Linked DNA regions of Homo sapiens: regions 2, 3, 4, 5, 6 and 7 are each linked to region 1. The links are contacts of gene promoters, found by promoter capture Hi-C in blood cells and fetal thymus (Javierre and others, 2016). All regions are on one chromosome and are shown on one strand. Each heading gives the region's core, a stretch centred on a gene start or on the middle of the fragment in contact. The rest is flanking DNA. Distances are from core to core; before and after follow the strand shown. Region 1 holds the start of TRAF3IP2 (TRAF3 interacting protein 2). Region 2 overlaps FAM229B (family with sequence similarity 229 member B). Region 3 overlaps TUBE1 (tubulin epsilon 1). Region 4 has its middle 4.4 kb from the start of CCN6. Region 5 overlaps SLC16A10 (solute carrier family 16 member 10). Region 6 overlaps SLC60A2-DT (SLC60A2 divergent transcript). Region 7 overlaps SLC60A2 (solute carrier family 60 member 2).

Region 1 (3,910 bases), core at 659-3,158:
CACAACAGTTAGCCTGCTTTCAGATAATGGTGCATCGTTGTTTGAAAATAAAATCAGGAACTCATTGCAGGTGAAATATCTTGAAATTCCTGTCCTTTCATCCCAGGGGAATAGAGAGAAATGCCTAAAAACATGACACGGACTACACCAGGACATCCCACAGAAACCAAAAGTCCTGCACCAGCCCATCCCAGTCAGCTAGGGCCTGTTTGAACTGTATTGATGGCAAGTAATTGCCAAAAAGAAACAATGACAATTTTTTTTTAAGTCACGGTCTGGAAAAAGTTAAGGATTCTGTGTATCCGCCATCTAATAATGTCTCTAATCACAGTCATCACCCTTACATGGTATTAGGATGTGTTTCATAGTTTCCCTTCCCCTCCCATTAAAGGCCCCACACACAGTGACTGGTCCAGCTGAGGAGTGGTTTCCAGGTCCAGCTACAGCAGTAACTCTGGCTTCTGGAGCTGGGCTTGTCTGCCAGTTCTCTGGCCTGCCTTGACTCTGTGGACAATAGCACAGACTATCCTTCCTGGGTAACCCAAATGGGACATGAACTAATTCGAGAAACTCCCTGTTTTCTCCTATTTGGCTAGAGCCAGTAATAAGGCCTCAATTCCAGGCAGCCCTCCCGCAGAGACACGTGTCTCCCAGCCTTTCGCCCTGACTGCTGCTTTACCTCTTGCCTTGAGAGCAGACGAGTGAAACAGAAATCAAAGCAGTTGACATGGAAGGGGGGTGAGCACCTACTAGGCATTTGGTAGCATGCTGGATTCTGGGAGGTAGAAAAATATCAGGAAACAAAGTCCTTTCCTCAAGGGGGTAACCAACTGGTAGTGGGAGGTAAAATTAAAATATGTGAATAATCGGTAAACAAAACAAGTCTTGAAGACCACCCATTACCACTACCCCTCTGGGACTATCCTGGCTTTGTTTTATAAGGGAATTTGACACACTCATGTTAGATCACCACCCCCCATCAATTTACTGATGAAGAAATCCAGGCTTAGTGGAGTCAGAGTGAATTGCCTAAGTCATGGAACCACAAGAAGTGAAGAACTTGAAACCAAGTTTCTTGTCCTTTTAAAAAATTTGGCCTCTTGTTCTCCTGTTCCTTTAAAAAAAAAAAAATCCCCCTATTCTAAGATACCATCTTGAACTTGAAAGTCACAAGAAGCTTGATTAGCTTCTAAGATCAAGTTCTGGCATTTCTCCCCCTTGTTCCCAAAGGCTCCGTCCAGCGCCAGGCTGGGAGGGCTGGAGGGCGGCTGCGGAGAGGGGCCGGGAGGCGGCTCACAGCCAGCACAGAGCTCAGCAGAACTTCCTGGCCCAAAAATGTGCTGTTGATTTTTTTCCCCCCTGCACGAAACAAGGATTGAGAAAACTGCCACTGACGTGTTCTGGGGCTGAAAGCCAATTACTTAATCTTTGCCATCCCTGGCTCTCTCTTTGGAGAAGTGGGGCTTGAATTCTTGAGAGAAACTTGTGGGGACACTAAGTACCCAAACGAATGGTTCCCAGGCAGCTCCGAGCTGTCCCCGTGTGCGAGCCTCCTCTCCTCAAAGGGTTAACCCGGCGGGGCTCGCTGGCCTGAAATACTATACTAGCAACACATCCTTGCAGCACAAACTTCACTGTCATTTTCTCAGCTAAGATGGTCTCTGTGCGAACAAGTTAAAGGAGGGGAGACGAACACAGAGGAAAGTAGAGGCAGAATGTTTCAGTAAAGGAGAAACAGCGTGCTTTGGGAAATAGGTCAGAGGTGAAGAAATAAGACCAGGCAAGTGGCAACTCCGAATAACTTACCTTAGATCCACCACGGACAGACAGACTGGGCCCGGAGGGTAGTCGGCTCTCGGCGGCTTCTCGTCTCCCTCCACCTTCTCCGGGCCCAGGTAAGTAGAAGAACAGGCTCTGAAGCAGGAAGTGGAAGCTGTATGCAAATTTCTACGGAGCCTAGGAAGCCTCTGCTCAAAATCTCCCTGTGGGCAGTGAATCAACGGCTGAGGAGTCACTTTATTTCTTAAAACAGAAACCTCCTTCATTCATGAGAAAGGGCCAGTGACCAATTAGGCGGCATTTTTGTTTTCGCCACCCAGCTAAGAAGCTGCCCAGGAGTGGGCAGAACCTCAGTGTAGTCGCAGTGCCCTCGCCTGGGAGGGTGTCTCCGGGAGGAGATTGAACTCGAATGTTAAGAATTAGTAATCATTAGCAGCTCCAAAGGAGGGGATTGTGGGCAGATAATGGGGAAGAAGAGGGAGTCGAGCTTCTTCCACCTCCTCTAACTGCTTAAAACATCAGCATTGCCGAGCGCGGTGACTCACGCCTGTAATCCCAGCACTTTAGGAGGCCGAGGCGGGAGGATCACGAGGTCAGGAGATCGAGACCATCCTGGCTAACAAGGTGAAACCCCGTCTCTACTAAAAAATACAAAAATTAGCCGGGCGTAGTGGCGGACGCCTGTAGTCCCAGCTACTCGGGAGGCTGAGGCAGGAGAATGGCGTGAACCCGGGAGGTGGAGCTTGCAGTGAGCCGAGATCGCCACTGCACTCCAGACTGGGCGACAGAGCGAAGACTCCGTCTCAAAAAAAAAATTTAAAAAAACCCAAAAAATCAGTATTTGCTGCCCATAACCACTGGGGGGGTGGGGGGGGGCTCACTGACCATGCTCCTGGACACACGTGTACACACAGCATACACATGCCTGTGGCTTGTGCACACACACCACCCTATTGTCAGGCACAAAAAAAGTGGTTAATTTTAAGAACACACACACACACATACATACACATGCACACATGCACACTAACCTCCTCTGGCTGCATTTTCCTGACCTCAAGATTTTTTTTCTCCCCTTTCCTTCCCATTGTTTAATCAGTAGCCTGCAGAATTTATTGCATGAAGGAGCGCTGCAGGCAGGATGATACCCAGCGATGTGAACAGAGAGAGAGAGAGACAACTGCCTTTCGGGGCAGCAGTCAGTAATGGGAGCAGTGTTAGCTGGAGCTTTGGAGTCAGGAGGACCTGGGTACGAACTCAGCCATGTCACTGGCCAGCTGGGCGCCCTGGGCAGACACACCATGCTCCTGGTGCTGGACTTGTCTGCCTGTTGAAGGGGTCCAAGTGTCAGTCCACTCAGCCGGCTATCTCTCTACTCTCATCAAGGGGACAGGCCCCAGAGCATCCCTGTTCAGATTGTACCAGGTTCTGCTCAAGCAGGATACAGGAAGCAGGTTGCTCAACATTCCACAAGCAGAGAAAATGCAGCTTGTTTTTAACACAGTATACACAGGTTGTTTGCATTTGGTTTGCAGAAAATGATGCAGCTATTAAAAATCATCAATATGTATGTATTATCTGAGCCACTAACATGAAAAAGTGGCTCTGAGATATTATTTAACTAAAAGTATTATCTTATTTTTTGCCAATATATGTGACATATACACACACATAGATATGTATATCGATTTTTTTTAAGAGACAGTGTCTCAGTCTATTGCCCAGGCTGGAGTGCAGTGGCGCAATCATAGCTCACTGCAGCCTTGACCTCCTGGGCTCAAACAATCCTCCTGCCTCAGTCTCCCGGGTAGGTGGGACTACAGGTGCACACCGCCACACCTAGCTAATTTTTAAATTTTTTCTAGAGACAGGTCTCCCTGTGTTGCTGAGGCTGGTCTTGAACTCCTGGTCTCAAGGGATCCTCCCACCTTGTGAGCAGCAAGCCACCCAGGTGCCGAGGCAAGAGACCGAGGACACGAGCTGTTCCAGTACAATAAAATATAAAACAAGAATAGTTATACCAGATATAGATCTTAGATATGATTATATATGAATATCATTAATCATTAGTTTGTAGCAATTACTCTTTATTCCAATATTACAATAAACCTTGCTCTATAATCATAACCTA
Region 2 (3,910 bases), core at 962-3,461, 490 kb after region 1:
AATATTTATGCACCAAATAATAGCTTCAAAATACCTGAAGTAAAAACTGCAGAATAGAAAGGAGAAGTAAATAAAATCACAATTATTGTTGGAGATTTCACACCCTTATTTCAATAGTTGATAAACCAAGTATATAGAAAATCAGTAAGAATATGGAAGACTTGAACAGTTCTATCAATCAACAAATCACTTACATAGAACAGTGAAGCCAACTATAGCAGCATGTACATTCAAGTGCGTGTGGAACATTTACCAAAGCAGTTTATATTCTGGCTATAAAAACAACTCTAAATAAATTTAAAAGAATTCAAGTCATACAACGAATATTCTCTGACAAAAATGGAACCTAATTAGAAATCAGTAACAGAAAAGTAGAATATTCCTAAATATTGGAAAATACTTATATAGAACACTGAAGCCAACTATAGCAGCATATACATTCAAGTATGTGTGAAACATTTACCAAGGCAGTTTATATTCTGGCTATAAAAACAAGTCTAAATAAATTTAAAAGGATTCAAGTGATACAAAGAATGTTCTCTAACAAAAATGGAACCTAATTAGAAATCAGTAACAGAAAAGTAGAATATTCCTAAATATTGGAAAATTAAACAATATAATTGTAAATAACCCATAGGTCAAAGAAGAAAAAGCAAAAAAATTTTAACTGAAGGAAATGAAAATACAAAATTAAAAAATTTGTGGAATGCAGCTAAAGGAGTGCTTTGATGGAAATTTATAGAATTAAATGTTTACATTAGAAAAGAAGAAAGCACTAAAATTAATGACCTAAGCTTCTACCTTAAGAAATTAGAAAAAGAAAAGCAAATTAAGCCCAAAGTAGACAGAAGAAAAGAAATAATAAAGATTGGAGTGGAAATAAAATAAATAGTAAATAGAAAATAGAGAAAAATCAATGAAACCTAAATATGTGTCCTGAGAAATTAAAATTATTTGATAGGCTTCCTTGTTCATAAGATAAAGTCTAAAATTTTAACTTGAGTTTTTGCTCCTGCGTGATTTGGCCTGTGCTTATGTCTCAGACTCCATTTATTTTCTGTTTTCCATGCTGTGGTTATGCTGGCCTTTCAGATTTTTTATTGTCTTTACTAGCATGACCTTTCCACATGCTGTTTTCCTCTTTGCCCCCTCCTCAACTGTGTCAATGTTTTTGTCTCCCACTCATTTCCACCTAATTAATGCCCCCCATCTCTTAGATTTAGATTAAATATCCTAGACTAAAACAAATCCTATCGTAACCTACAAACTCTACCACAACAGGAACTGTGTTTGTTTTTGCTTAATCTTTTATCTTTAACACTTAACACATGCCTGGCTCATGGTGGATTCTCAGCAAATATTCATTAAATGAATGAATGAATGAAGTCCATGGGTCTTTTTTTCTTAGAACATGACAAGTTCAAATATCACTCATTTTCTGCATCTCATGAATTAATATCTTGAGAATTGAAAGACTATTACTCTTGAGCTTGTGATACTTAAGGGGGTATTTGGATACTTCATCTTTTTATTCACCATTTGCATTGCTCTTGTTTATCTATTGCTTTATGAAAATATGCTGGAGACTCAAATTCCTTTTGTCTTCTGAGGTATCATTCTAATGTTGTAAAGTTTCATCATTAAGACTACTGTTTGGTTTGTTTCATTGTATCACCCATTCTAAAGAAGCATGGTATGCCAAATGGACTAGTTAAAATGGTAAATTACAGGATTTTAAGAATACCCCACTTACAGATATTTTACTTCATATATATCCATGACTAAAAGGTGAAATCAGTGTCTCAATACTCTGATTTCAAGAATGACACAAAAATATGTAGGAAGTAGTGCTGATTGAATTCTTGTGTCCCAGTTATTGGCTTTATACATGTTAGATTGTTTTTAATTCCTCACGACAACTCTGTAAGGTAGGAATTAATACCATTTTACAGACAAACTTTTAGTGATTTGCTTAAAATCTCAGAGCTAACATTGTGTCAAAATTCAAACCTGGCTGGGCACAGTGGGCTCATGCCTGTAACCTTAGCACTTTGGGAGGGTGAGGTGGGTGGATCACTTGAGCCCAGGAATTTGAGACTAGCCTGAGCAGCATGGTAAAACCCTCTATCTACAAAAAAATACAAAATTAGCTGGGCATAGTGGTGTGCACCTGTAGTCCCAGCTACTTGAGATGCTGAGGCAGGAGGATTGCTTGATTCCAGGAGGTCGAGGCTGCATGCAGTCAGCCATGATCATGCCACTGCACTCCAGCCTGGATGACAGAGCAAGACCCTGTCTCAAAAAAAAAAAAAAAAAAAAAAAAACCAAAAAAAAAAAAAAAGAAAAAAAAAAACCTCTAACCTAATTCTGATGCTAAAACCCATCATTCTCCCCACTGCTACCACCTCTCAAACATGTAAACTATTACATTTTTTGCCATCCTAAGGACCAAATGTTTAGGTCCTAATGATACCTTAGCTCACAATGGCCAGCAATTATTTGTTTGTGTGACTGTGACACCGTCAGTTATTTTTCCAAGCTGAAATGGTGATCAACTTATTCACAGATAGTACCCTAGTAAGAAAAAGAAGGTGGAGGTAAGATTGTATCCAACATCAAGTTAATTCTTATGTAAAATGCCAGTTTTCTATAACTTGAGTCATATGAAAACACAACAGTGGTAAAAATGCTCACTAACATTTAATAGTTTAGTCATCGGATATGAAAATTGAAAAACTGCTTAGCTGAAGAGTTATGTTCTGGTATAAGGGTTAAACTAAACATTACTGAGTAGAGGAGAAGTTCATGAGGTGGGCTATTGATCTAGAAGCCAAGAATGAGTTGGGAGAGGGAGAGCAGTTAGAGAAATGAGCAGAGAAGCAGCCCAGGGCTCAGGGAACAGAATAATGAGGACAGTACAAGATGTATTCTTCCTTTCGGCCGGGCGCGGTGGCTCACGCCTGTAATCCCAGCACTTTGGGAGGCCGAGGCGGGCGGATCACGAGGTCAGGAGATCGAGACCATCCTGGCTAACACGGTGAAACCCCATCTCTACTAAAAATAGAAAAAATTAGCCGGGTGTGGTGGCGGGTGCCTGTAGTCCCAGCTACTTGGGAGGCTGAGGCAGGAGAGTGGTGTGAACAGGTGAGGCAGAGCTTGCAGTGAGCCAAGATAGCACCACTGCACTCCAGCCTGGGTGACAGAGCGAGACTCTGTCTCAACAACAACAACAAAAAAGATGTATTCTTCCTTTCACAATTGTAATTATTCCAGCCATTTGGGAATTTGAAGACTCTCTTGAGGAAACAGGAAAAAAAAATAAAGTTAGTCCAGGCATTAGAGAGAGGGTGTAAAGAATCCCATGTAAGAGTTATAGAGAAATTTGTAAAGGTACAATTTGGGTTTGAGGATATTGGAGTGAGATGAGGATGTAGACAGATGGGATTTATTTGGGATGTTATAAGAGAAGGTCTGGGAGAGAAAGGGAATGAGGAAAACAGGATATAAAATGAGAAGAATCTCAATTCTGATTTACTACAGGTGGATTAGACTGTAGGTCCCCACTCATGGATGAAAATACTAATATTGTAGGGAAATAAGCCAGTAAAAACAAGAATGAAACTCTCCAAAAAGCTTTAGAGAAAATTTTTAGCTAAGCCTCAGCTTGTTGTTGGAGCTATGCATTGAGATGTTTGATTCTTTAGCAGGTAGGAAACTATGTGAAAGAATCTCCTGATGTCATAATTTCCGGGTGTCACCGGAACATTTGATCATCATTCCTTTGGCAATTCCAGCCTTCTGTGGAAAGGCCAGTAGAAAGCATTGATTTATTCACCTCTACAGGAATCAGACTCAGCCTCTTTTGGTAAGTCTATTTATCCTTGATCAAATTAGCTAAATGTTAATACCT
Region 3 (3,910 bases), core at 666-3,165, 470 kb after region 1:
ACATCTTAAATAGCCAAAATAAACACATACAGTTACAAAGCTGTACAATAATTACCTTTTTCTTGTAGAGCCTCATGAATCTCTCTTTCAGTTCCATGAAGGTGGGCTTCACACATGTGTTATTTGCTAAAGCTAATAACGAATGAGAATGGCCCACAGGAGGTACGGAACACAGGCTGGTCTTCCAGCCTTCTTGATTCCAGGAGACAAATTGTAGAGATGGTTTTAATCTGAGATTAAAAAAAAAAATCTCAGAAGGTGAGAACTAAGGTACTAAAAATGTCTGCCATATAATGGCAGCTCATATTAGTTAAACCAGAACATTATGGATGGTATCAATCTACTTGCTTAGTTTAGACGCTAAGTTATCTATTTTTTACTATTGGCAGTAACATGGTACAGTCTGATAGTGAACTAAGAGACATTTTGTAGGGGAACATTAAATTGGCTGTGTTGTGATTCAAGAAGCTAGAAACTCATTCCTTAAGAGTAGAAATCTAGGGATATAAAGAAATGAAGGTACTACCATTTTCCTTACTTTGTAATTCAACAGACTAGTTTTCTTACAAATAGAATGAAATAGTAACACAAAAATCAGAAGTAGTAGTAGTACTACTATAGTAGTACTGGTGGCAGTGGTAATAAAAATAGTATAGCTACGATTTTCTGAACACTTTCATAAAATAAAACATGTCATATATCATTTAAGACTCCTAAATAAAAACCATGTACTATTATTATCCTTATTTTACACTTGAAGAAAACAAGGCACAAAGAGACTAAGTAGTTTGTTCACAGTCACACTTTAGTAAGTGGCACTGCTAGAATTTGAAGGGCGGCTGTTAACTAACTACTATGCCACACTGTCCCAAGCAGCACACACAAATTATCTTTAAAAATATAAACCAAACCTTTCAATATTTCTACGAAGATCTGAAATTTGTACATTTCCTCTAACCATGAGTGCACAGGCGAGGTAAAGACTGTGTTTGGGGTCTGCCCGAAGCAGCTGGTGATCTTTACTAAAGGCATCTGAAAACATCTGATCCAATCTGCAACAATGAAATTGTCATTGTTTATACAAAATATTACTTCTTTCTATGTATAACTATAAAATGAAGATAGTCCTCTATAAGTAAGAAACCACACTAAATATTACACTAACAAAATATTAGATTATATATATTCTAAAAATATTAAATAACTATACTTTTCTTGAAGCAATCTTAATGATATGAGAAGAGAAGAAATCATATAATATTTTCTTTTTCTGGGGGAAAAGGCTTCTGCAGTATATGGGTGATTTCAGGTAGCTACAAAATGTTGACTGTAGCATTATGAACTCTATGTAGTACTGATTTTTGAAACTTGTATTATTATTACTTAGTTCGGTATACCTTATTTATTTCATAGTATCCAAACTACTAAAACTAATTAAAAGCCTAGAACATTAAGACTATTACTTTGTAAAGTATATTATATCATAAATTTTGTTAACAGGAGGAAATTATCAAAGGACAATGTGAAGCTCTCCTATAAAAGATGAAACTCCATAGTAGTTCTCCTAAAAGTAGAGACTTTTAACCTAAGTCTTTTAACTGAAGGATAAAAGACAAAAGAAAATAAAGGTGACTGACAAAGTTTATATCTAACAATACACAGACTCCAATGCTAGGCTGATGCCAATGGACATTTAATAATCACCATGTTGCATACACTGTGTATGTTGCTTAGCTTGTTAAGGTCATCAGCATCCCATGCAGAAACGGAGTCCTATCTATTAGTTGGCAAAGTGGTCATTTGCTGTTGGCTTAGATGAAAACTTACCAATATCACTTGTGACATTCCTGAAGTATAGAATTATCTTGTCAAAACTTTAGTTATAAAAAAGAATCTTTAGTTTTCTTTAAAAACTTTTAAAAAATTATTTTCAATCTGTTTTAGAGACAGGGTCTGTCTTCCTTTGTTGCCCAAGCTGGAGTGCAGGATCAAAATTATAGCTCAATGCAGCCTCAAACTCCTGGGTTCAAGTGATCCTCCCACTTCAGTCTCCAGAGTAGCTGGGACTACAAGTGCAGACAGGGTCTCACACTATGTTGCCCCGGCTGGTCTTGAACTCCTGGGCTCAAGTGATCCTCCCATCTCATCCTTTCAAAGTGTTGGAATTACAGGTGTGAGCCACTGCACTCAGCCAATTTAGTTTTCCCTTTCTTATTTACATACTGTCTCCTTACAGAGTTTGGCAGGACTTTTTCCCTCAGTCAACTGTGAATGCCACTGTGAACTTTTCAAGCTCATCATCAGTATACATGCTAAGAGTATCTTTCAAAACTACATTTTTTGTTAAGTATACTGATGTAATCTTTATGCTTAACAATGACACACAGTTATAAAGCAAGGTGTTCTGGAAAACATACAGAGTTACATCTGAAATTCTTCTATGGTACTGGGCTGTGACAGTAGCTTTAAAACAAACTCTCATTTAATCTACCCAATAAGTATATGAGGTAGGTACTATTTCATTTTTACAGATGAGAAAAACTAAGAAAGTTTAAGTCACTTGCCCAAAGTCCTGTAGCTAGCGACAGTTAGGATTCAAATGTGTTTGTCAGACTTCAAAGGACTTTTCATAAGCCTACAAATTTAATCATTAGATTTAAGTTCAAATAGTTTAATACTGGCATTTTTCAACAATTACTTCTAAATAAAGATGCATTCATCTAATGCAAAAATGGATGTCATCAACTCTCACAGATAAGATGATACAATTAAATAACTAGAGTTATTGCAAACTTTTTTCTCTTAAAAATGTTTTTTAAAGTAATTTGAGGCCTCAAAAAATTGAAACAAAGTTACACCTTACCTTCTAGGAGGAATGTTAACATCTGTCAGTGTATACAGAGGTGTTAGGCTTGACACGAGATAATGAAGTTGAGGAAAAGGAACTAAATTCATGCTGATTTCATTAAGGTCCATATTAAGGGACCCTTCAAATCTTGCAGAGCTAAAAAGTTAACATTAAAATGAGAAAATTTTTAATTTTAAAATTATACACTTTAAATGTAGCTCGATTTATTCAGCAGGTAGTTTCTTAAATTCTTTTGTACACTGTTCTTCAGTGCAGAACACATGCTTTTCTTCCATATTAGTGAAAGTTAGTATCAGAACAATCATGTATAAAATAAAATATAACACACAACATCTACATTTTTTTTTTCTTTCTTTTTTTTTTTTTTTTGAGACAGGGTCTCGCTCTGGTTGCCCAGGCTGGAGTGTAGTGGTGTGATCTCAGCTCACTGCAACCGCCGCCTCCCATCTCAGCCTCCTGAGCAGCTGAGACTACAGTAGGCATACAACACCTTGCCTGGCTAATTTTTGTATTTTTTGTAGATATGGGATTTTACCATGTGCCCCAGGCTGATCTCCAGCTCCTGGGCTCAAGCAATCTACCTGCCTTGGCCTCCTAATGTGCTGAGATTTACAGGCATGAGCCACCATGGCTGGCCCTACAGTCATTCTTTCTGGATTATCTGAAGTGTAATCAATATACTATTATAGTTGCTCATTACACATATAAAAATATCCTATTTAAAACAAACTTTATATTTGAGTTAAACACATATAAGTCAATAATTAGTAACTGTAGAAACAACTAATTTCCTCAAGAATCTGCTTAATATACTCTATAATCTAGAATATAATAATGTCAAAGCAATCTCTGATACCAAAAAGCCACAGAAATCTTTTGGACCAGTTAATGAGGAGGTACAGATTAGTTGGTTTAAATGATTAAGACATTCTACAGCTAAAAAATGTTTAATTTTGTCTACGTGTTTTACAAGTGTGTCAACCACAAAATCTTTTACATCATATGATATCTGTTCATATTCCATGGAACATACTTGGGGAA
Region 4 (3,910 bases), core at 508-3,007, 440 kb after region 1:
CGCCTCTGCCCCGCCGCCCCTTCTGGGAGGTGAGGAACGTCTCTGCCCGGCCGCCCCGTCTGAGAAGTGAGGAGCCCCTCCGCCCGGCAGCCACCCCGTCTGGGAAGTGAGGAGCGTCTCCGCCCGGCAGCCACCCCGTCTGGGAGGTGTACCCAACAGTTCATTGAGAACGGGCCATGATGACAATGGCGGTTTTGTGGAATAGAAAAGGGGGAAAGGTGGGGAAAAGATTGAGAAATCGGATGGTTGCTGTGTCTGTGTAGAAAGAAGTAGGCATGGGAGACTTTTCATTTTGTTCTGTACTAAGAAAAATTCTTCTGCCTTGGGATCCTGTTGATCTATGACCTTACCCCCAACCCTGTGCTCTCTGAAACATGTGCTGTGTCCACTCAGGGTTAAATGGATTAAGGGCGGTGCAAGATGTGCTTTGTTAAACAGATGCTTGAAGGCAGCATGCTCATTAAGAGTCATCACCACTCCCTAATCTCAAGTACCCAGGGACACAAACACTGCGGAAGGCCGCAGGGTGCTCTGCCTAGGAAAACCAGAGACCTTTGTTCATTTGTTTATCTGCTGACCTTCCTTCCACTATTGTCCTATGACCCTGCCAAATCCCCCTCTGTGAGAAACACCCAAGAATGATCAATAAAAAAAAAAAAAAGAAAAAGAAAATATCCCTATCTTTAAGGGACATATGACTGTAATGGTAATAGTTTGCAAATGGCAGGAAAGAACGCAATGGATAAATGTATGCAAAATTATAGACATGCTTAGCTTTGGTAGTATGCAGTATGTAGTATAAGGTGATTTAAAAGGACTCTATTTTGAATCACCTAGTTTCTATTGAGCACCTACCAAGCAAACATCCTTCAGCCTTGTTGGGCTTGCAGTAGCAACCTGGTGGGCAGAGTTGCTGCATTATTAGAGACCCGGTTGCAGGCCAAGCCAGGAGTGAACAGAGGGCCATGGGAGACGGTACAGATGCTCCGGCACTGGTTTTGGTTCTGAGTTCTGTGAGTTTTCAGGGGAGAGTCCACACTGCAGGAGAATGGCTACTTTGTGAAGCTTGTGGTATTTGTAGCAAGTATGAGTATGACTTCACAAATTCATTTTCTTTAATTCAAATTAAACCAGGCTCTGAACCCTCCTCCCCTGCCTCCATCCTGAGATGGATTTATTCTAAGGTATCATTGGTGCATTCCTCCCCACCCCCAATACCATGGCCACCATCATGACCACCCACCCACCCACACCACTGCCACCATGAGTGGGGGTTGAACGACAATCCAGCAGGCCTAGAAGGTGCCTAAAAAGGGGCCAGGCCTCTGATAATCAGTTCCTAAGTTTTCTGCCAATACCTGTATCATCCAAATACGCATAGACACTTGAGGCTTTGCATCCTCACAAAGTTCTTTGAGGAACTTAGCCAGTGCAGGGCACCCTGGTACTGGGGCAGCCTCCTGGAAGTACCATGAATCATCAAGTCCCTCTGAGCTTTAGTCACCTCCCCGGGCTGCTGCATGGGGAGGCCTGAATGTTCAGTCCTCACCCAATGCTCGGCTGCACTCCTCTTCCTCCCCATCGTCTCCCAGCATCACCTCTTACCAGTGAGAACAAGGCAGGATCTCAAAAGGCAAGATAAAGCATGCCAGCAGCTTCCATCCTGTGCTTAGAGGATGGATAGGCGGGAACCCTAAAGGGCCTCACTAACTTCTTGAAATCCAGGAGAGGAGCAGGTGGAAGAAAAATACAGAGAACTCAATGCAAATTAATATATCAATCAATCATCCTGCTACTGATCATGGTGTCATTTACAGGCCATGCAGAGAGCAGCAGAGCATGGTAATGAAATTCTTGGAATCTTGGTTCTACCTCTTGCTAACCATGTGACCTTGCCCCAGTTTCCTAATAAGTAAACCAAAGATGGTAATCACAGAACACAGGCCCAGTGTTGCTGAAGGATCAGAGGAGTTAATACATATACAGCACTCAGTACAATATTGAGACACAGTGACACTCGGCCAATGTTAGCTCTTATTATTATTATACTTTTTTTTTTGAGACAGGATTTCTCTCTGTTTCCCAGGCTGGAGTGCAGTGGTATGATCATAGCTCACTGTTGCCTCAACATCCTGGGCTCAAGCAATCTTCCTGTCTCAGTTTCCCAAGTAGCTAGGACTACAGGTATGCACCACCACACCTGGCTAATTTTTTTACTTTCTATTTTGTAAAGATGGGGTCTCACTATGTTGCCCAAGCTGTGTTATTGTTACTATATCTCTATTTCACTGGAGCAAATATTGACCCCCCTCATAGCACACATTCAATACATTACTTCCACAAACAATATCTTCTCTTTTCTCAAGGATGTCAATACACCCTTCTCCACAATCAGTAAGATAGGAAGATAAGGAAAGAGGGGATGAGGAAAGGAAGACTCATACTGTACTAAGCTTGCTGACCACAGGCATGAGCTCCAAACACTGCCTGCCCGGACGGCTGGTACTCCCAGGAGAAGGGACTATTCTAGCTGTGATGACGCTCCTAACAGAACGATTTTAGGAATCTTACGGGAAAGGAGTGGGGTGTGCTCTGTGCGGGGGAGCTCACCACCATTAGAGGTGTGCATCTTGCCAGTGGAAGGAGTCCTGGACTGGCAGTTGTCTCCCGACTCTTCATCTAGCTTCATCTCTTGACTAAGTATCACTTCCTCAGATGTCCTCTCTGCCCCCAATCTAAATTAGCTCTCACCTGTCATTCTCTCTTATAATTTCTTCTTTGCTCTTATTAGCCTTTATTCAACTTTCAATGACGGACATTTTGTGTGTTTATTTGTTCAGCGTCTTCTCTCCCAGTAGATTATTTAGCTGTAGAGGGCAGAGATTAAGTGTGTTTTATTGACCAAGTATAATCGCTTAGCTTTCACTTTTTAATCTGTTAAATGAGGTTGGTAATACTGCTTTTGCCCACCTCACTGAGCTGTGAAATTAAAAATGTAATACACAGGAAACTTCTTTGTAAATCATAGAACATGGTGCACATTGAATTATGCTTAGCGCCATGTCTATTGGAACGTACATCACAAACTGAACACTTGTGAAATGAGCTCCTAGACAGATTAGCATTCTGTTAAATGAGATAATAGGGAAACATGCTCAGAACAGGACACACACTGTGAAAGCTCTTATTGTGTAAGGTCAAAAATAGCAGCCCCGACCTCTAAAACTACCATATCCATGGAGTCCACACACAGTCGGCTGGAAAGAGTTAAATAGGAGCTCCCACAGCCAAAGATGTCTAAACACATGTGGGAGTGAGTAACCCAGCGCCAGTGTGTTCTGGAGCTGGGGGAGGTTTTGCAGGTCACTTTTCAAGCAAGATGTTCCTTTCCTACCAAGAGGCAAGGATGGTCAACATCTATCTTCCCCTGCTCCACGTCAGTGAGACTGCAGAGGGATGGAAGACGATTCCAGAAAAATGCCTGCTGCCGCCAGCATTTCACAGACAGCAAACGGGAGGAGGGTGAAACTCCTTAAATTCAAAAATTGCACTGATATGTGCATTACTATATGTGGAACCGGGGGAGAGCTGGAGCTGGAGAGATACAGTTGATGAATACCCCAGTGTTGGGATGCGACTCCTCTGCTTTTCATAGACAAACCAGAAACATGAAATTATCCATCCTGACAGCCGGTGTGGTGTGGGAATCACAGGCTGGTACCCACAGACCAATGGTGATAACCAGGAAGATAAAAAGACAAAGATCAGATTGGACACTGATGGGTCTTGACTCTTTATCCAATTTGCCAGTCTGTGTCTTTTAATTGAAGCATTTAGTCCATTTACATTTAAGGTTAATATTGTTAAGTGTGAAGGTTAATATTGTTATGTGTGAATTTGATCCACATTA
Region 5 (3,910 bases), core at 643-3,142, 380 kb before region 1:
GCCACTGAATTGTTCACTTTCAAATGGTTAATTCTATTTCATGTGAATTCCACCTCTAGAAATTCTCTGAATGATATTATAAAGATGTCCTATGTTCAGTATTACTTGGGTGCCTGTGTCAATTAGTATTAGAAGATTCAGTATAAATATGATAAAATTTAAATGTGTGTACTGTCATCTGTGTTTGGCACATGAGGTGCTCAGTGAAGGTTTAGCTCAATTCATTCTCATACCCTGAACTGTATTCCTAGTCATGAATCAAGCAAGCAGAGTTACTACTGAGCAGACCAAATCCAGTTTAAGTTCAAAAGGTCATGGTCTCCTTATAGGAGAACCCTCCATTCCTTCTTCTCTCCCGCAGGTAATATAGTATTCACTCTTCTTTCTATAGCCTACAAGCTTAGTTTTATAGTTTCTAAGTCCACAGCAGATTTTATATAAGCAGCACTCTAGTAGTAAATAGTTTTGCTACCAGAAGTGACAGTTAACAGAGCAAGAATAAGGGAGGTAACAGGAAACTTCTAAAGCAGGCAGAACACCACCACACAGCAACTGGCAGCAGAAAGCTGCTGGCTCACCAGGAGGCTCTGAGGGCATCATAGTATTACAGCAGAACATAATCATGAGTGTTCATAAGGAGGAAGAGTTCAGGAATGGTCTGATTCCAAAGATAGAAAACTTGTGCATTTACAGATATTGTCTATTTTATATATGCAGAATGGATGTACACATTTTTATGTGTTGGTACTTAATTGGACAAATGGTCAGCTATTTATTTAACAATGTCAGATAGATATTTAGTACAGTATATTCCCTGGACATTTTAGATAACTTAGGTTTTATAGTATAAGTTATAAGAGTTTAAAAACACTAAGATAACTTTTAAAACCATGAGTCCTGGAATTTGTTAGAGAAATTAGAAATGTTGAGTACCGTAAAAGTTTTCAGAAGCAGAACCCGAATATAGAATGCCATTAATAATTCTTATATACTTACATTTTCTTCCAGGTACTTATAAACCTTAGTCTATTTCCAAAATGTATTTAACAACCTAACTTTCATCCAAATTATTAAATTTAAAATTTTTCTTAATTTTGAATTATGATGTTAAATAGTTTTCATGTTATTTCATAAAAAACAAATACACCAAAGAGTAGTTTGAAAGCTGGGCATGGTGGCTCATGCCTGTAATCTCAGCATTTTGGGAGGCTGAGGTGGGAGGATTGCTTTAGCCTAGGAGCTTGAGACCAGCCTGGGTAATGTGACAAAACCCCATCTCTACAAAAAATATAAAAATTAGCCAGGCATGGTAGCATGCACCTGTAGTCCCAGCTACTCAAGAGGCTGAGCTGGGAGGATCAATTGAGCTTGGGAAGTCAAGGCCTGCATGAGCCATGATTATGCTACCGCACTCCAGCCTGGGTGACACAGTGAGACCCTGTCTCAAAAAAAAAAAAACGTCTACCTTTCTATCTTTTCAAGTAATGTCTTGGTATGAAAATCCAGAGGACTGTACTTTATGACAACGTTAAAGATATGAGATCTTTTTCTTCCTATCAAAAAGGGTTTATATTTCAGATCTGTTTCCTAAAAAAAAAAAAAAGTCTGATGTCTGAGATGTCTGAATCAGTCCTGTGGCTGATCTAGACCCCCTACAGAGCCACACTTGTTCTCCCTTGGTGACAGCTTTTTCCCTTCTCAGGGTTACTTCGTGACAAACTGGGCTCCTATGATGTGGCATTCTACCTCGCTGGAGTCCCTCCCCTTATTGGAGGTGCTGTGCTTTGTTTTATCCCGTGGATCCATAGTAAGAAGCAAAGAGAGATCAGTAAAACCACTGGAAAAGAAAAGATGGAGAAAATGTTGGAAAACCAGAACTCTCTGCTGTCAAGTTCATCTGGAATGTTCAAGAAAGAATCTGACTCTATTATTTAATATCTTACATACCTCCACCAGACTGGACTTGCTTTTTGAATTTTAAGCAAGTTTCCTTTCCTTTTATACAAATTGCAAATTTCATATTTTTTTAATCACATCCTAGGAATAGCACAATAATTGGGAAATAGAACCCTTATCACTAGAAGAACCATTTTCTGCCACTAAATATCTCTGATGTTTCCATGAGTCTGAGGGCAGAGACTCTGGTATATGAAAACGTCTGAAAGTCACATATTGTGAAAATTTGAAGCTATCTCAGTAAAAAGCAGCTTTGGAAACTGTGAATGATCTTTAGCTTGTACAAATGTTTAAAAATACCTCAGGCTATACTGAAAGGGTTGCAGTTTGGTTAGGAGTGGAAATATTTTGTTTGTTAATGATGTCTTCAGTTCTGGTACCTCTGTTTTACTTTCTTATGCTCTTTGGAAACTTTTTGCAAAATTTAAGCCTGGGTTCTAGATAATACCAGATCTACCTAAACCTCAAGTCTATGTTAAAGTTGCTTTCCTGCTGTTAAATAAGCTATGATATTAAGATATTCTGACTTGCTCCAGTGTCAAGGGACCTTCTGGGAGCAGGTGCTAACATAGTGTTCAGAATCAATATGTGAGATGAAAAGGATCCCCTCCAGGAGGATCCTGAGCTGTTCAGAAATCATTTAAGTTTACAGCGTTGTTCCCTTTGCGTTTGCAGTGCGTTTTACTCAAGTAGCCAGAAACACCCCACGTTTCTGAATTTGTTTAAACTGTAACAATAAAGTAAAATAGAATGCATGAAAGATATTCTGGCGATTGTAACTTAGAATTTTTCTGACTTCTGGATTTGTTGGCACTAGAACCTGATATTTAAAGTCTTACTGAGCAGCTATCAAGTGGCAGTTACAGGCACAAATTGGTGGAGGCTGGAGGATGGGGAGGGGAGCAAAACCCTTTATATTTGTGAAGAAAATATCTGTAGCTGATAGAAATAATTGCTTAAATTGGTTTATGAAATTAATGAGTCTGAAAAGGTTAAAAGCACTTATAAAAAGAACCAAGTCCTACATTTCCAGAACTTTCTGGCAAAAATTTGCACTCATATTATTTATCCTATGAACATTCCCATTGTTTTTTTTTGCTATTTATATACAGATTATCATAAGAAAGCTCTCAGTTTGAGGACCCAAAATAAAACCAAAGTCATGCCATGACCCATACTCATTTACAAAAACAAGAACACTTTCCTCTATCCCTAAAATTATGCTTTAGTACTTGAGGCCTTTAAAAGTTAGTGCTTTTGATTGTGAAGACATTCAGCAACTTACTTTGTCATACATGCAGTTGCACCTTACCACTTCTAATAGTGTCATATTTCATATTCAGGGGACTTAGATAATTTGCCTGTGGATGGTTCTTTTGCAGGAAAAAAAATCTACATTTTGACCATACTACCCTTTCATGTCCTTATTATAAGCTTTTAGAAAATGATTTCATTCAGTCATGTCCAGTTATATAAAACGTTACTTTCTCATTTTTGAGAAGTTCAACAAAACATACTACTAAGACCAATCATCAAACCCACTATTATAAATGTTAATTTTGGCTGGGTAAGGTGGCTTGCGCCTATAATCCCAGCACTTTGGGAGGCTGAGGAGGGAAGATTGCTTGAGCCCAGGAGTTTGAGACCAGCCTGGGCAACATAGCAAGATCCTGTCTCTACTAAAAATAAAAAAAAAAATTAGGCCAAGCATAGTGGCTCATGCCTGTAATCCTAGCACTTTGGTAGTCCAAGGCAGGGGGATCACTTGAGCCCAGAAGTTCAAGACCAGCTTGGGTAACATAATGAGACCCTGTGTCTACAAAAAATTTAAAAATTAGCCAGGCATGATGGTGCCCACCTGTAGCCCCAGCTACTCAGAGGCTGAGGTAGTGGAAGGATTGCTTGAGCCTTGAGATGGAGGCTGCAGTGAGCTATGCCACTGTACTCTAGCCTG
Region 6 (3,910 bases), core at 938-3,437, 360 kb before region 1:
GGAGGCAGAGGCTGCAGTGAGCCAAGGTCATGCAACTGCACTCCAGCCTGGGTGGCAGAGTGAAAACCTGTCTTAAAAAAAAAAATGGCCATTGAACAATGCAGGGGTTGGGGTCCCTACACTCCATGCAGTCGAAAATCCATGCATAATGTTTGACTCCCCCAAAACTTAACTCCTAATAGCCTGTTATTGACCAGAGCCTTACTGATAACATAAACAGTCAACTAACACATATTTTGTATATGTATCATATACTGTATTCTTAAGATAGAAAAAAGAAAATGTCATTAAGAAAACCTTTTTATGTTTTTGTTTTTAAGACGGTCTTGCTCTGTCACCCAGGATGCAGTGCAGTGGCTCAGTCATGGCTCACTGCAGCCTTGACCTCCTGGGCTCAAGCAATCCTCCCACCTCAGCCTCCAGAGAAGCTGAAACCACGGGCACGTGCCACCATGCCTGGCTATTTTTTTTTTTTTTTGGTAGAGATGGGAGATCTCACTATGTTACCTAGGCTAGTCTCGAACTCCTGGGCTCAAGCAATCCTCTTGCCTCGGCCTTCCAAAGTGCTGGGATTACAGATGTGAGCCACTGTGCCCAGCTATGAAAATCTTAAGAGAAAATGCATGTACAGTATTTTACTGTATTCATCAAACCAAGTTCACATTGTCTGTTTACAAGATGAATCATCTGTCTGAAATGGTCAGCGCCTGTGGCTGCAGACCTCAATCGAAGGTTCATATCAAGGAGTTCAGCTTTTTCTTGTGATATCATGACTTTTATCTGCTTCTTGAGTGCACTTCAGGCATCACTAATGGCACTTTGTATGGGTCCCATGGTGTTATTCAAGGTTTACAGTATTGCACTTGTCAACTGAAGAACGATGGAGGTTCATACATTTGGAAAGGAGAGCTTTCTTATAAAGGGTTGCAGCTTGCAGGGTGGCCATTCTGACAGGCTGGAAAGAACAGCCTCCAGCCAGAAGCCAAAAACAGACACTTTGACAGGGGGAAGAGTATGACAGAGATTTGCTGAAGCAGGTGGCCAAATATACATACTTAATAAGCTATAGGAGGAGTTATGATTATTTATGAAAGGAGAAACACACACATGCACAATAGAGCTTCATGCTTCTCCATGGGACCCATGTTCAAAAAGTGGCAGTGTTAGCACCCTCCATCCAAGGGTGGAGTTTTTGGCCCTCTGATTTCAAGTGGTGAAGCAGACAACACGAAAACCTCTCTGCTCATCCTTGGTAGACTGGCCAGAGCCACTCTGTGGACCCTGGTCTCTTATGAGGAAGGAAAGCTTTGTCCAAACTGCCAAATGGAAGGGCAGCGACAGGTGGTTGGTGGCTATCAGCAGTGGAGCAAGTCTCTCAGAAGGGCTGGCTTCTCTGTAACCCTTAAGGAAGAAAACCTAAGAGCAGTTAGAGCAGGAGCAGGTGTAATGAGGCCCCCATCTCGTCACAGCTGGAACTGAGTTTTGGCCGAGAAAGGAGTCTGTTTAGTTGGTTGGGGGGCTTAGGATTTCATTTTTCTCACACTAAACACACACAAAAAATGCAAGAACTGAGAGAAATTAGTTTTTACTTCAATGGAATTTACTGGAGAGATGAACTGGGCAAGTGGAGATGACCGACGAGCGTCACACAACGTTTTGGGTGGATACTCACAACACTGGAGCCCACCACGACAACAACGAGAGGCAGCTGCAAAATTATTCCAGCAGTACAGTGTGTACTACAGTGAGTTGTATGCAGTTATGATTTAATACTGCATCTTCACATTTGTTTCCATTTCTCTGGACTGCAAATGGCGCCATGTGTAGTCTGATGTTTGTGTGTGTAAATTTTGATACATTTTAACATTTTAATAATAGATTTGTGTATATTTTATGGTAGTAAATGATAAAAATAGACAAGTGTCTACATATTTTTATGCGTTGATGACATACCTAACATTTTCTTTTTTCCATATTTCTAGGCTATGTGATTTGTCTGCAAGTTTTTTATAATTGTTGCAAATATCCCCCCAAAATTTCCATATATTTATTGAAAAAAATTCACATATAAGTGGACTCATGCAGTTCAAATTTGTGCTGTTGAAGGGTCAACTGGATTTTTCCAGTTTTCTTGATACTAGTTACTACTCACTGAATAATTCATCTTCTCCTCCTTCCCCCACTCCAACAGTATATAATAGTTTTCTTCTATTTACAATGACAGAATTAACATATTTTTTCCTCCATCTCCCCCTCTCTATCACCTGATTTTAGTAATATTATCTTTCTTCATGTTTACCTCTAATTATTTTACCTCTGTATTATTCCATTTTATACTTATAACTCTACTATTCATTTAATTAGCTTTAAGTAATAACTTTTCACCTCTAGTTATTAAAGATGAGGAATCAGTATACTTTATTTCATATATATAATTTTTAATTGTTTAGAGATGGGGTCTTACTATTTTGCTCAGGCTAGTCTCAAATTCCTGAGCTCAAACAATCCTCCTGCCTCAGCCCCCCAAGTAGCTAGGATTACAGACACACACCATAGTATCCAGCAAACAAACAAAAAAATCAGTATATTTTCATCCTTTTCCATCCATTGCTTTCCACTTTTTATTGCTCTATCATTTCTACATCATCAGGGCTAATAACATTTAAATTCCATCTTTCCACCGTAATCCTCATATTTGTCTTTGTCCTGTGATTTGCATCAAAGCTCACTGCCAATCCCGTCTGCAGTTGTTTCTCCACTCATCTCTTGTTCTACTGAACCTTCTAACATTTCTCAAATGGATTTATGAAAATAATATTCCAAGAGTTCTTTCATCTTCAAACTATTTATCTTTTGTCTTTACACCTGAAAATATTTGGCTCATGTTTTCTTTCCTATGGGATTTTGTAGCCATTTCTCAAAAATCTTCCAGCATTGAAGTTTGCTATGGAAAAAGACAGAGGCTAGCCTTTGGATTACTTCCTTCACATCATGCCAAGGAAGCTCCAGCATTTCAACCTCATTAACTGTAGACCACCAGTGAGTCGAAATTTTTAGTCAACCAACCAAGTAAGCTTTTACAGCCATCTCCAGCTGCATGGACTGACACTTTGAACCTGCAGTCCCTAGTAAAGTGTATCCATAGCAGTGAATTCAGCTGGATCTAGTGTTCTATTCTGTTTTCCTTGGTTTAATACCTTTAGCATCCACTTCCACACATTCACCAGGTTTCCATTCATATATATTAACAAAATATTGCAGTTATTTTGGTGTTATTTCCTCCTGGATCATAGTGTGTACCTGCCCACCTGGAGATGTCAAGATTTGATCCTAGTTATGGGGCTAGTGGCAATAAAGGATGGTTATCATGGGTCTTGAAGAGAATGGGCATCCTCTTCCAAGGTGTCTGCCCCAAGTGACATTATCACAAGGTTTTCAAACAAAGACTAGTCTCTTCAGATACTGGAGAGCAAACAACTTTCATTGGTGAGGCTCTACTGCCTAGCAATTGCCATTCTTCATCCTATGCGTACAAATCCAAAAGAGCTTTGGTGCTTAAGAAGAAAAAAAAGTACCTCTGAATGTCTTATGATATATGAACTTTTATCAAGAAGTAACTTGGAAAAGAAGACTTTTATCTAGAATCCTCGTAGCATTTAGAGAGAATACCACTCTCTTCTGTTGCCCTGGCCATTTGAGCATTCTCAGCAAATAGTATTTTCTGAAAAGATGCTAAATGTATTAAACCTTTGAGTTTAATGATTTGAGTCTCAAATGATGCTAAAGGTATTAAACCTTTGATGCTAAAGGTATTAAACCTTTGAGGCAGATGCTTTTTATCTTGTGATTCTCAATTGAAGGAGCAGTTAAAAAAAAAAAAAAGATGAAGCCGGATGTGGTGGCTCATACC
Region 7 (3,910 bases), core at 973-3,472, 340 kb before region 1:
ACATTACATTGTAAATCCCAGACCCTCCGCCCCCCTTTTTTTTTATAGTGGAAGAAACTACCACATAGTTAGACATTATTTTAATGATTATAAGTAAAAACTTTTGTCTTTTTAAATTTTAGGGATTGAGTGTTGCTATAGTGGGACCCACGTTTCAAGATTTGGCAACAAACGTGAACCGAAATATCAGTAGTCTGTCTTTCATTTTTGTGGGTCGTGCCTTGGGATATTTGAGTGGCTCTGTGATTGGTGGATTTCTTGTCGATGTCATGAATTATTTTTTACTTTTGGGTAAGTAAATGCTAATTTTAGCTTCTTTATGACTGTCAAGTGAATTTACAAGTTGTCTTTGAAAATATGAAAATACTAGCATGCAGAATGGTTGGCCACTGAAATGGGTAGTGTTTAGGTGTCCTCAATGGCAGTTGAGTTTCCCTGGTACCTGCTTTCATCTTGACAGTTAGAGGGTATCTGTGCTGGGTCCCTCTGGAAATTTAGATTAGCTCTAGAGTGTCTTAGCAATCCTTAGCCTTTCCAACCACTATAATTTAGCTACCACTCCTGGATCACACACTGGTTGTCCAAAAAACTCTGCTTAGAGGGTTTAGGGCAGATTTCCTGGGGTCACCACAGATCAGAATGAGCTCTTTGAACCTGCCCAGGCTACACCCTGGATTGGGAATGAAGAGGGGAAGCGAGGTTGGGTGGACTGATGTAGGCTATGTTTTTGTTCCTGCTGCCCCATGTTGTCGTTGGACAACCCCAGAGTGCTCTGTCTCACCCTGGAAATAGATGGCAAAGCTGCTTTTTTTTTTTGAGACAGGGTCTCCTCTCCCTCTATTGCCCAGGCTGGAGTGCAGTGATGCGATCTCTGCTCACTGCAACCTCCCCCTCCTGGGCTCAAGCGATCCTCCCATCTCAGCCTTCCAATTAACTGGGACCACAGGTGTGAGCCACCATGCCTGATTAATTTTTGTGTTTTTAGTAGAGCCGGGGTTTCACCATGTTGCCCAGGTTGGTCTGGAACTCCTGAGCTCAAAGGATCAGCCTCCCAGAGTATTGGGATTACAGGTGTGAGCCACCACGCCTGGGCTGGCAAAGCTTTTAGCATATACTTTTTTTGAATAAATTGAAATATTTAGAGAAAATTTAGATTAATATGATAAAATTGTTTTGGAAGCAAGAATAATTTGTTATTGTTAAGGAATTAATAAATAATCCCTCTTATTTCCAAAGTGGGTTGAAATAACATATTTCTTGTATTTTCCTCCCTATTTCCCAAACTAATTTATTTAGTAAATTTTATTACAAACTACTCTAGTAATTGCATTTTATTTTTGTCTATTTAATTTTTTGCCTCATGTCTAAAAATTCCTGTTAGGTTCTTAAATGTGAATCATTTAAATTAGTTTTGGCTTGTCTCTTTTGGTATAAAACTTTGCCTTATGGTATAATTTACAGTTTGATTACTAGCAGTGCTTTAAATGTATTTGTGTTATAATTATTTATATTTCATAATCCATAAAGATTATAAAAGATTCAAATGAAATAATCACTTTTAGAAGCAAAAACTCTCATCTACTCATTATCTAATTTAAATTTGACCTGATTTTGCATGTTTGGACATTTATGATATTGACTTGATCCATGACTGCATGGATATTATTTTTTATAGCTGAGTTTCTACCTTCCCAGGAATCTCAATGTCGGCTACCACCGTTGGTCTTTATCTTGTTCCTTTTTGCAAGACAGCAATATTACTCACTGTCATGATGTCTATCTTCGGTGTTTCAATTGGCATTCTGGATACAGGTTAGTGAGCTCTTCAACGTCATCTCTGGGAGTAGGGACTTGCTAGAAGAAGTACAGCAGATGATACTAAACTGTCACTTGCAATGCCCCCTAAAATGACACAGACCTACTGAGTTGGTTGTGAGTCACTCAGAATGAATCACCCTTCTAGCAGCTATTCTTGCCAATTAGGGGGCCTGTTTCTGAGCAGCCAACTCTGAAATGAACTTAAAGAATTTTGTTCTATGAGAGATAATTGATTTACATTGTCCAAACAGGGAAGGGCCCCTGTGTGGGTAATTACAGTGCAGGTGAATAGGCCTTCATCTTGGGGTAGAACTTTATTGCTCTAGTATGGGAGGAATTGGTGGTTTAATAGGTTAAACCAAGTTTGGAACTGTTATTTGGCTGAGAAAGCATAGAAGCAGCAATCCAACTTGACATTTACCCTGACTTCCAAGCCAAGAGAGATCCATAGTGTGGACTAGGCTCTTTCTTTTTCTTTCTGTCCTCAAAGTTCCTGGCCTCCTGCAGTAGATTCTTTCCCGTATCATCATCATGTCTTTTAAAACTTACTAAATAGGCCGGGTGCGGTGGCTCACACCTGTAATCCAGCACTTTGGGAGGCCGAGATGGGTGGATCACGAGGTCAGGAGATCGAGACCATCCTGGCTAACACAATGAAACCTCATCTCTACTAAAAATACAAAAAATTAGCCGGGTGTGGTGGTGGGCGCCTGTAGTCCCAATTACTCGGGAGGCTGAGGCAGGAGAATGGCATGAACCCAGGAGGCGGAGCTTGCAGTGAGCAGAGATCACACCACTGCACTTCAGCCTGGGTGACAGAGTGAGACTCCATCTCAAAAAAAAAAAAAAAACCTACTAAATAACGGCGGGGTGGCTTACGCCTATAATCCTAGCACTTTGGGAGGCTGTGTCGGGCAGATCACCTGAGGTCAGGAGTTCAAGACCAGCCTGACCAATATGGAGAAACCGCGTCTCTACTAAAAATATAAAATGAGCCAGGCATGGTGGCGCGTGCCTGTAATCCCAGCTACTCAGGAGGCTGAGGCTGGAGAATTGCTTGAACCCAGGAGGTGGAGGTTGCAGAGAGCCACGATTGTGCCATTGCACTCCAGCCAGGGTCTCAAAAACAAACAAACAGAAAACCTACTAAATAACATAGATGACATCTGTTTACTCCTAAAACCAGCTTTCTACCCCTCCCTTCCCTGCTTTGCTGTTACGTGATCTGTTGAGGAAATATTTTATTTTACTTTAGGGTTAATTTTGTTATGAAATTATAGGGTAGAATTATATATTTATCTGAAAATATCTGTTGAAAAAAAAGAAGATAGCTCAAGATGTGCTGCTTCTTGCCTTTCTCCTCCTAGACGTTTAGACAGTATAAATTCAGATGCTAAACGGTGTCCTTGTTTCCTCTAATGGGCATACCAGAATCCTGGCTATTCAGGTTCCTGGACGTGTGTTTTGCATCTGTTACATACATAAGTAAGTAATTTTCCTCAAGTGGCTACCAACAGCAAGTACAGAAAGCTTTGGTAATTTGGCTACTATCTGATGATAAAATTTTGCCTTTTAAATATATATTTAAAATATTAATATATAAATATTTCTTCTGCAGTCTGATGTTAGAACTGTATTATAAAAAGCGTCTTGCTAATGTGCTTGGTTCTAGGAGGTAGTAGTCTACTAGACTGTAGAATTCGATTTGTGAGTATGTGATGTTATAATGCTTAGAGTTGTCTGGTGGTAGTGGGTTAGAATTCCTTTCTCAGAATTGATTTAGTTGCAATGTTTGATAATTAGAATATTATAATGCTTGTGCTATGTAAAATAGACTCACCCCCTTTCTGATAAGTGAACTTTTTTTTTTAATAAGTAAGTAACTGTTTAACTTAAATAATTTTTCCCATCTTTCATCGACAGGTGGTAACGTCCTTATCTTGGCTATTTGGGGGGACAAAGGAGCCCCACATATGCAGGCCTTACACTTCTCTTTTGCCTTGGGTGCCTTTTTGGCTCCACTGCTAGCTAAACTGGCTTTGGGTCCGACAGCGTCTGCTGAAAACCACACAGAGTCTGACTTCCATCCTGC

What was found. Contacts are between HindIII fragments. The CHiCAGO score rates a contact against its expected background, and 5 or more counts as called.
Region 2: a fragment that was not itself captured here is called in contact with the fragment with the promoter of TRAF3IP2 in region 1 in 1 of 17 cell types (total CD4 T cells); the score reaches 5.0 in total CD4 T cells.
Region 3: a fragment that was not itself captured here is called in contact with the fragment with the promoter of TRAF3IP2 in region 1 in 2 of 17 cell types (activated CD4 T cells and non-activated CD4 T cells); the score reaches 5.9 in activated CD4 T cells.
Region 4: a fragment that was not itself captured here is called in contact with the fragment with the promoter of TRAF3IP2 in region 1 in 7 of 17 cell types (total CD8 T cells, activated CD4 T cells, non-activated CD4 T cells and 4 more); the score reaches 11.6 in total CD8 T cells.
Region 5: a contact is called between a fragment that was not itself captured here and the fragment with the promoter of TRAF3IP2 in region 1, in 3 of 17 cell types (neutrophils, naive B cells and naive CD4 T cells). The highest score is 7.0, in neutrophils.
Region 6: a fragment that was not itself captured here is called in contact with the fragment with the promoter of TRAF3IP2 in region 1 in 3 of 17 cell types (neutrophils, activated CD4 T cells and non-activated CD4 T cells); the score reaches 7.3 in neutrophils.
Region 7: a contact is called between a fragment that was not itself captured here and the fragment with the promoter of TRAF3IP2 in region 1, in 4 of 17 cell types (neutrophils, megakaryocytes, M1 macrophages and 1 more). The highest score is 6.3, in neutrophils.

The regions. Positions count from the first base shown.
Region 1 is chr6:111,603,970-111,607,879 of GRCh38, forward strand. TRAF3IP2 (TRAF3 interacting protein 2) reads right to left here and starts at 1,909. Exons shown (of 9, transcript NM_147686.4): 1 at 1,807-1,909. RefSeq lists enhancers at 1,618-1,687, 1,978-2,027, 2,873-3,505. The HindIII fragment of the contact is 15,213 bases long and covers 1,176-3,910 here.
Region 2 is chr6:112,093,337-112,097,246 of GRCh38, forward strand. FAM229B (family with sequence similarity 229 member B) reads left to right here. Exons shown (of 4, transcript NM_001033564.3): 2 at 3,705-3,865. Among named protein-coding and RNA genes, the nearest start is that of FAM229B, 7.7 kb to the left of the region's middle. The HindIII fragment of the contact is 2,839 bases long and covers 793-3,631 here.
Region 3 is chr6:112,071,847-112,075,756 of GRCh38, forward strand. TUBE1 (tubulin epsilon 1) reads right to left here. Exons shown (of 12, transcript NM_016262.5): 9 at 2,864-3,004; 10 at 912-1,052; 11 at 56-230. Among named protein-coding and RNA genes, the nearest start is that of TUBE1, 14 kb to the right of the region's middle. The HindIII fragment of the contact is 6,092 bases long and covers 1-3,910 here.
Region 4 is chr6:112,047,706-112,051,615 of GRCh38, forward strand. No RefSeq gene overlaps it. Among named protein-coding and RNA genes, the nearest start is that of CCN6, 4.4 kb to the right of the region's middle. The HindIII fragment of the contact is 1,388 bases long and covers 1,064-2,451 here.
Region 5 is chr6:111,220,301-111,224,210 of GRCh38, forward strand. It overlaps SLC16A10 (solute carrier family 16 member 10), which reads left to right. Exons shown (of 6, transcript NM_018593.5): 6 at 1,703-3,910. The coding sequence ends at 1,935. Among named protein-coding and RNA genes, the nearest start is that of SLC60A2-DT, 37 kb to the right of the region's middle. The HindIII fragment of the contact is 2,991 bases long and covers 398-3,388 here.
Region 6 is chr6:111,241,959-111,245,868 of GRCh38, forward strand. The region is part of intron 1 of SLC60A2-DT (SLC60A2 divergent transcript); the gene reads right to left. Among named protein-coding and RNA genes, the nearest start is that of SLC60A2-DT, 15 kb to the right of the region's middle. The HindIII fragment of the contact is 1,769 bases long and covers 1,304-3,072 here.
Region 7 is chr6:111,262,135-111,266,044 of GRCh38, forward strand. It overlaps SLC60A2 (solute carrier family 60 member 2), which reads left to right. Exons shown (of 4, transcript NM_153369.4): 2 at 123-291; 3 at 1,696-1,812; 4 at 3,742-3,910. Among named protein-coding and RNA genes, the nearest start is that of SLC60A2, 4.8 kb to the left of the region's middle. RefSeq lists a silencer at 1,772-2,066. The HindIII fragment of the contact is 2,247 bases long and covers 1,100-3,346 here.